2 separate regions of the Homo sapiens genome follow, and region 2 is linked to region 1. The links are contacts of gene promoters, found by promoter capture Hi-C in human tissues and cell types (Jung and others, 2019). All regions are on one chromosome and are shown on one strand. Each heading gives the region's core, a stretch centred on a gene start or on the middle of the fragment in contact. The rest is flanking DNA. Distances are from core to core; before and after follow the strand shown. Region 1 holds the start of HORMAD2 (HORMA domain containing 2). Region 2 has its middle 12 kb from the start of ASCC2.

The links. Contacts are between HindIII fragments. The study calls those that stand out against the background at their distance.
Region 2: a fragment that was not itself captured here is called in contact with the fragment with the promoter of HORMAD2 in region 1 in 1 of the 25 tissues and cell types used here (bladder).

The regions. Positions count from the first base shown.
Region 1 is chr22:30,078,194-30,082,318 of GRCh38, reverse strand. HORMAD2 (HORMA domain containing 2) reads right to left here and starts at 1,855. Exons shown (of 11, transcript NM_152510.4): 1 at 1,828-1,855. HORMAD2-AS1 (HORMAD2 and MTMR3 antisense RNA 1) reads left to right here and starts at 2,062. Exons shown (of 5, transcript NR_110541.2): 1 at 2,062-2,191. RefSeq lists enhancers at 1,785-1,864, 1,702-2,399, 3,574-3,653 and silencers at 2,205-2,254, 3,704-3,823. The HindIII fragment of the contact is 22,926 bases long and covers 1-4,125 here.
Region 2 is chr22:29,847,992-29,852,526 of GRCh38, reverse strand. No RefSeq gene overlaps it. Among named protein-coding and RNA genes, the nearest start is that of ASCC2, 12 kb to the right of the region's middle. The HindIII fragment of the contact is 4,899 bases long and covers 1-3,904 here.

The sequences.
Region 1 (4,125 bases), core at 606-3,105:
ATTTATGAAGGCTCTCTACCCATCTTTCTCAATCTTCAAAAACCGTTTTTTACAAGAAAATCCCTTTTCTATCAGGTGAACACTATCCAATAGCTGGATTCTGAAATGTAACTATATTACCTTCCTTACACATGCATGTTGTTAAGAATGGCTTTACTCAAAAGAAGTGTACGTTAACATAAATGGGTTCAATAGATTCCTAAAGCTGGAAGGGAGCACAGACATCTTCCAACCCCTTTGATTTAAAGAAGATCCAATTCTGTGGAGGAAGAATCTTTTTTTCAGCAAATGATGCTGAAACAAAAGGACATCTGGAGGGTGGGGGGAAGAACAGAGAATTAAAAGAAACTTAACCTAAATCTCACACTGTATACAAATATTAATGCAAAATGGATCATGGATTTAAACCTAAACATAAAACTATAAAGAAAAGGGGCCAGGTGCAGTGGCTCACACCTGTAATCCCAGCACTCTGGGAGGCCGAGGTGGGAGGATCACGAGGTCAAGAGATCGAGACTATCCTGGCCAACATGGTGAAACCCTGTCTCTACTAAAAATAAAAAAAAATAAAAAAATTTAGCTGGGCGTGGTGGTGCACACCTGTAGTCCCAGCTACATGGGAGGCTGAGGCAGGGGAATCGCTTGAACCCGAGAGGTGGAGGTTGCAGTGAGCTGAGATTGCGTCACTGCACTCCAGCCTGGCACAGAGCTCGACTCCATCTCACAAAAAAAAAAGAAAAAAGAAAAGGAAAGTGAGGCTAAGCAAGGGAACTTGGTTTGCCAAAGTTCGCCCAATTACTTAGACCTTCCAACAGAGCTTGCTTCAATAAATTATTCACCATTTTAACAAATTCCATTTGGCCCTGGTAATTCCCCTACCTGTGCTCATTCAGAGAAAATGGCTTCCACTATATTAATTGAGTATTTGTTCATGCTCTTTTGACTTTTTAATATCTTTTTCATGCTATTTCAATTATTCATTCATTCAACATCTACGAGGCAACTACAATGTGCCAGGCAACAACATGCAGGATTACGAGATGTAAAATACTGTTCCTACCTCAACAGATTGATGGTCCAATGGAGGAGAAATTAGATTATGATCCTGCTGAGATTAAAAACCCCTTTAGGGGCCAGAACCACCCCTCATTTCTACCAGCTGAGTACACGATGTACTGCACAGCCTGTCCAGTGCCCTGCGTACTCGGACACATTTTGGCGATTGGCTAATCCTGAGGTTCAAGACTCTCTCCCTCTGTTTAGGGAACTAAAGTCCATAGGGATTAATTGGCAAATCCTCACTAAAGTGAAAGGGGAGCTGAGGTCAAGGGGGGCGGGGTGTCTTGTCCCCACCTCTCTCACCTCTTGGCCTGTACCAGGCATCGATCCTGGCAGAAAACCTCAATGGCTGGGGAGAATCTGACCCAGGTAAGATAAACTTCCCCAAAGCTCCACCACACACGGCCCCCTCCAATGTCGGGCACAGACATCGTCTGCCCTGCCAGCCTCATCATGGCTCATTATGGCTGCTGCTTGCTCAGCAAGTTTGATTTCATGTCCAGAAAAATCTGAATTTCAAAACTACCTGGGTGCTCTCTGTCCAGTTCTGGGGGAAATCGCCTCCCTTTTGCCTTCCTCCTCAGCCCCCTGCCCTCCCGATTCTCTTCACAGTACTTTAGGCCCTCACGAAATATGATACTTTCAAATCCAACTTAAAGCCTTAAGTAATAAGAAAAGAAAAAAAAATTGTTTTTTGACATAAAGACAGAACTAACAACGCCCGAGTGCCCTCTCTGGGCCGAGACCTCGCGTCTCAACAGCCCTCACCTCAGCTCGTCGACGCTTCCCTCCCACCGGGGGTCAACGGCCTTTTCCGGCCCAAACCCGCTCCTCGGCTCATGAATAGTCAACGAGGCCTTTCTGGGCGGGACCAGAGGTTTCCTCATGAATAATTCATGACCCGTCCACGGCTAGCCTGGGCGACCGGCCTCGCTAGACTTCATGAATATGCAAAGCAGGGGCGAACGGCGGCTAGCCGGCCCCTAGCCCGCCCGGCCCCTCAGCAGCCGCCTCTCAGCCACGGGCTGCACACTGACCCGACGCGACCTTCGGTCAGGGGCCGCCAGCCTGGGCCACCTATACAACGACAGCCTGCTCCGGGGCTTCCTGAGGAGGTGCCTGCCCCGCCGAGGTTAGGACCCGAGGGACCGTGGGGCTCGGGCGGGCCAGGACGCCAGGCCGGCGGGTCCCAGAGAGGTCTGAGGCGGGCGCGGGGCGGCGTAGGGGAGGGAAGCGAGAGCCTGGGGGGCCCAGGGACCCGAGTTAGAAGAAGGCCCGAGAAGTGCGGCGCGGTGGCTCCACCTGGGATCCCAGCACTCTGGGAGGCTGAGGCGGGCGCGTCACTTGAGGTCAGGAATTCGAGACCAGCCTGGCCAACATGTTGAAAACCCGTCTCTACAAAAAATACAAAAATTAGCTGGGCGTGGTGGCGCGCGCCTGTAGTCCCAGCTACTTGGGAAGCTGAGGCACGAGAATCGCTTGAGCCCAGGAGGCTGAGGTTGCAGTGAGCCGAGATTCCGCCATTGCACTCCAGCCTGGGCGACAGAGCGAGACTCCGTCTCAAAAAAATTTTAAAAAGTACAAAAATTAGCTGGGCCACCTGACGTGCGCCTGTAGTCCCAGCTGCTCGGGAGGCTGAGGTAGGAGGATCGCTTGAGCCGGGGAGTTTGAGGTTGCAGTGAGCCAAGATCGTACCATTGCACTCCAGCCTGGGCAACAGAGGGAGACCCTGTCTCAAAAATAAAAAAAAAGAAAAGAAAGAAAAAAGACATAAGGCCAGAAGGCCAGAGCTTTCCAATACTTGAGGGCATCTGCAACCTCTTCATCCCTACCCTGGACCTGACTTTGCATTCTTTTTAACATTAATTTGTAATTATGCAAATAAAACATAAATATATTCTCCTTTGTGCCCTACCCCTAATCTCAGTTTTTTCTGCCCTGGTAACTGTGGGAGCAGTTGGGGGTGTGGCTCCTTGGATCGTTTCTCACCTGTTTAGGTAGATATTTCGTATCCTGTGGTGCTTTCCAAAGGCTCCTGGAGTCCCATGAACCTCCCCAAGGGGATTTCCCAAGAGAGTAGATGAAAGAGTGAGCCACTTGAAACCTGTTCTTATTTTGTTTCTGCAGGAAAGAAAAAAAAAACTATTCAAGTTGGCGAGAACATGAGTTTAGAACATAATGACTAAAACTGAAATTTGGGCTGAAATATTCTTTTAGTGCAAGTTTTCTCAACCTTCTCCCCACCCCCACCATCATAACAACCAAAAATTTCTCTAGACTTTGCCAAATGTCCCATGGGGTGTGCAAAATTGCCCTCTGTTGAGAACTACTGCGTTCACCCTATACTTTCCGGAAGTAACTGCTTTTTAAGCTCCAACCACACAGATGGTTTGTCTGCACCAGCCCTTCTCAGCCTCCGCATTTACCAGCCTCTCTGGCTGGATCACTAGGCCCTCTGTGCTGGCTGTTCTAATTTTCTTCTGCCTTCAGATCTGAGCTCAGTCAACTGCTACCATATCCAAAGACTTACCCCTCTCTGCCCTATACTATTGGCAGTCTACCCCACCAGCAAACACAGTTATTCGTTATTCTGTTTCTTTCATAGAATTTCTCTCAATCTAATTTTTTTTTTTTTTTTTTTTTTTTTTTTTTGTGAGACAGAGTCTTGCTCTGTCACCCAGGCTGGAGTGCAGTGGCGTGATATTGGCTCGCTGCCACCTCCACCTCCCAGGCTCAAGTGATTCTCCTGCCTCAGCCACCTAAGTAGCTGGGGTTACAGGCATGCATCACCATGCCCGGCTGATTTTTGTATTTTTAGTAGAGATGGGGTTTCACCATGTTGGCCAGGCTGGTCTTGAACTCCTGACCTCAAGCAATCCACCCACCTCAGCCTCCCAAAGTGCTAGGATTACAGGCTTGAGCCCCCAAGCCCAGCCATGGACTTCATTTCTTTGATAACCTGTTTTGTTTTTTTCTCTCTATCACCTGGAATAAGTAAGTAAGTGTCATCAGAGGCCTGATCTGGCGGAGTCGCCCCAGGATGCCCAGTGCTGGCACACACAGTAG
Region 2 (4,535 bases), core at 206-2,705, 230 kb after region 1:
ACTCCATCTCAAAAAATAAAAATAAAAATAAAAATAAAAAATTAGCCAGGTGTGGTGGCACACTCCTGTAGTCCCGGCTGTTTGGGAGGCTGAGCATCAAGGATCACTTCAGCCTGGAAGGCTGAGACTGCAGTTAGCTGTGATTGTGCCACTGCAGTCTAGCCTGGGTAACACAGCAAGAATCTGTCTCAAAAAAATGAAATAATGGGCCAGCCGCAGTAGCTCACACCTGTAATCCCAGCACTTTTGGAGGCCCATGTGGGCAGGTTGCTTGAGCTCAGGAATTAGAGACCAGCCTTGGCAACTTGGCAAAGTTTCATCTCCATTAAAAACAAATAAATAGCCAAATAGCCGGGTGCAGTGACTCATGCCTGTAATCCCAGCTACTCAGGAGGCTGAGGCAGGAGAATCACTTGAACCCAGGAGGCAGAGGTTGCAGTGAGCCGAGATCATGCCATTGCACCCCAGCCTGGGTGACAGAGTCAGACTCTGTCAAAAAAAAAAAAAAAATATATATATATAAAATAAAAATTAAAAGAAAATAAAATAATAAAAAATAAAGGGAGACGGGGCTGGGTGCAGCAACTCACACCTATAATGTAATTCCAGCACTTTGAGAGGCCGAGGCAGGAGGATCACTTGAGCCCAGGAGTTTGAGACCAGCCTGGGCAACATAGTAAGATCTCATCTCTAAAAAAAAAAAAAAAAAAAAAAAATTAGTCGATGCCTGTAGTCTTAGCTACTTGGCAGGCTGAGGCAAGAAGATCACATGAGGCCAGGAGTTCAAGGCTGCAGTGAGCCATGGTCACACCACTACACTCCAGCTTGAGTGAGAGTGGGAACCCAACTCAAAAAAATAAAAAATAAAATAAAGGGAAAGGGAAAAAGAAACTCTACATCCAAGATGATCTCTGGACGAAAATGACACCAAATACTGGACAATTTAAACAAGCTCCCCTTTTGGGAATGGGCATTGGTGAAGACATTGGGGCTGCCTGAAGGGAATTCTGGACTGTGTTTCCCTCCCCACATCACTTTTAGCCTCTTGAACCTTCACAGTCCATTATAGCCCAGCTTGATTGGCACCTGCTCCTGGAAGCTTTCCCTGACGTCCCTAACCAACTGAAGCTGAGAATATATTTCTCTCTGATTCCATGTATTAGCCACTGACCATTGCCCTGACCACTGCCTGCCTCACAGCCTCACACTAAGCCATGTTTCTGTCACCAGAGATTCTTGGGCCTTAAGATGGCTTTTCTAGCTAGAAGGGAAGAAGAGGTTCAGCAGGGTGCTGGCGTGAGTTGCTCTTAGACTTTTGAGGATGTTTCTTTGAGAATCAGATGAAGCCTCTCAGTCTCTCTACTGAAAAATATTCCCCAAACACAACTGTGTATAATTCAAGGGGGACACAGATCTTGGGAGCCCCTTCATGGACTTGGGTTTAGAATTTGTGCCTCATGGGGAGCCTTCTGTTAAGAAGAGGAACTACAGTTGTTCAGAACGTGTGCTATGGTTTGAATGTGTCCCCTTCAAAATTCAGGTGTTGCCAATGTGACAGTATTAAAAGGTGGAGCCTTTACGAGGTGATTGAGTCATGAGGGCACGGCCCTCATGAATAGGATTAGGTGCCCTCATGAAAGGATTTTTTTTTTTTTTTTTTTTTTGCTCTTGTTGCACAGGCTGGAGTGCGTTGTCACAATCTTGGCTCACTGCAATCTCCGTCTCCCGAGTTCAAGCAATTCTCCTGCTACAGCCTCCCAAGGAGCTGGGATTACAGGCACCTGCCACTACACCCAGCTAATTTTCTGTATTTTTAGTAGAGATGGAGTTTCACCATTTTGGCCAGGCTAGTCTTGAACTCCTAACCTCAGGTTATCCACCCACCTCGGCCTCCAAAAGTGCTGGGATTACAGGCGTGAGCCACCGGGCCCAGCCTCATAAAAGAATTTGATGGAGGGAGTTCAACCCTCCTGCCCTTCTTCCTTCTGCCATGCAAGGATGCACTGTTCCTTCTCTCTGAAGGATACAGCAACATGGCGCCATCTTGGAAGCAGAGAGCAAGGCCTCACCAGACAACCAAACCTACTAGTGCTTTAATCTTGGACTTCCCAGCCTCCTGAACCATTAGAAATAAATTTATGTTCTTTGTAAATATCTCAGCCTCAAGTGTTCTGTTTTAACAGCACAAACGGACTAAGACAGCATGGAAAACAACTCAATCTCTCAGTTTTGCCTCTCCTCAAAATGGCCCTGTCTCAGGGCCAAGGTATTTTAAGGAAGTCAGTAATCAGCAAGGAGCTATTAGATGCCTTCTTTGTGACCCTGGGCAAGTCATTGCCCATCTCTGGACCATGGTTTTTTACTTGGAATTGGAAGAGTTGGTCTAGATTATCCTAGCACTTTGATTCAATCATCAGCCAGCAAATATTTAATGCACACTGTAAGATGCCAGGTACCAAGCTAAGCACTGGGGATAAGGTTGGTGAACAAAACAGATGAGGTCTCTAATTTGTCAGAACACATAGCCTAATGAAGGAGTCAATCACTGATTGACCACACAATAAATACAAGAAGATAAGCTGTGACCAGTGACACACAAGGGAAGTGAAGGGAGCTAACTAGGAATGTGTATATCAGGAAAGTGATTATAACCTGGGAAAAAATGAGATGAAGAGGAGGCTTTACCTTGACAAGGAGAGCAGGGGGTTATTTCAGGCCGAGGAAGCAGCATGGGCTAGTGCCCTGAGGTGTGAAGGGGCCATTGTACTCAAGGAATTAGGTCAGAGCAGCTGCATACTGAAATCTCTGGGGACTGTGCAAGCCCAGAGAGTAGATACCCAGCAAGAAGAGAAAGTAGGGTTCCCCTCTTTTCTTGATGGTCAAGGCAAATCTTCCAGTAACTTATTTTCAAACTCTCTCAAGGAAAGCTAAAGAGCTGGCGATATTCCACTGGATTGAAACCCCAGGTTTAATGGCCAAAACCACTAAGTGTCAATATTTCCCATCACCAGCGTAGCCCAGAGACATCTTGAAATTCCTCCCTTTCAGATCCTACATGGAAAGTACAAGATGTGGCTGGGCATGGTGGCTCACACCTGTAATCCTAACACTTTGGGAGGCTGAGCTGTGAGGATCGCTTGAGTCCAGGAGTTTGAAACCAGCTTGGGCAACAGAGCAAGACCTCATCTCTAAGAAAAAAATTTTTTTACATAGCTGGGCACAGTGGCTTGTGCCTGTAATTCCAGCCATTCAGGAGCCTGAAGCAGGAGGATCACTTGAGCCAGGAGGTCAAGGCTTCAGTGAGCTGTGATCACTGACACTGCACTTTAGCCTGGGCAGCAGAGCAAGACCCTGTTTCAAAAAAAAAAAAAAGTTCAAGATGCTACCAAATAAAAAATGTTAAATCTTGACGTGAAGCAAAATGTTCGCTGACCCAACCCCCTCTGAATTTAAACCATGTCCCAGCCCTTGAGGAATTGTTTCTACCTCCTGGTTCTGTGGCTTTATTGTCCCACCCTGATGATTATAGAGAGACCTGAACATGCCAACTGCCACTTTGATGGGTGGTCTGAGTGCAGAGTCTCCAGGCTGCATGGAGGCAGACAGAACCACCCTTTCATCTCCCTGGGTGGGGCTTTAGGCTAGAGCCAGCATGAAAGCTTTGGTTCCAGTGCCCATTCTGCCATCCCCCCGACTGCTGGGTGACTCTAAAAAGGCCCCATTCCCTCTTTGGGCCTCAGTTTCCTTATCCATACAATGAGAGGTTTGAATTACATGTTCTGTAAGAGTTTTCTTCAATTTGGGGGTTCTCTGCCCTCTGATTTCTAAAATGTGTTAACTCTGACTTTTTTTTTCATCTTTCTGACTGTTGTTCACAGACCAGTGACAGGAGGCAAGACAACTACTATTTGTAAATTATAATGAATGGATAATTAGCTGCCTTCAAATTAAAGCTCTTTTCCTGGAAGCCAGGAGACCTGGTTTTTAAGTTGTTTACCATTATCGTCACTTAACGCTGTTTTCTCTCTAAAACCAAAAGGGGTAGGAGACAATGACAAGCAGATGTTTTGTTATTAGGGGCCCTCGGGGATGATTTGAGACTTTTCACTGCAGTGATCATTCTCTAGATTCTTCTGGAGTCAGCAGAAGCTTTGATGAACTCAACAGAGGCCAGGGGGATTGGACAGACACAGAACGGAGGCCTGTTGAAAGAAAGCCTGGCTTAACAGAAAGCTGCTGGGGACAGCAGTTCCTGGCTGAGGACAGTGTGGATTATGAAATTAATATATTTATGTAACACTTTGCAGAGAGATTTCAACTGCCATTATTTCATTTTCTCATGAGGACACTTTGCCAATGTTTGAGCTCACACCACTATCACTTCTCACATGAATCTTTTTCATTAAATTGTCTCGCTGTCTGTGGTGGATTTCCTGTTAAAATGGTCACCAAAGATCTATAAGACAGAAAATAGACTAGTAGTTGCCCATGGATGGGGAGAAGAACTAATTCCTCTCCACTTGAATCAGAGCTGG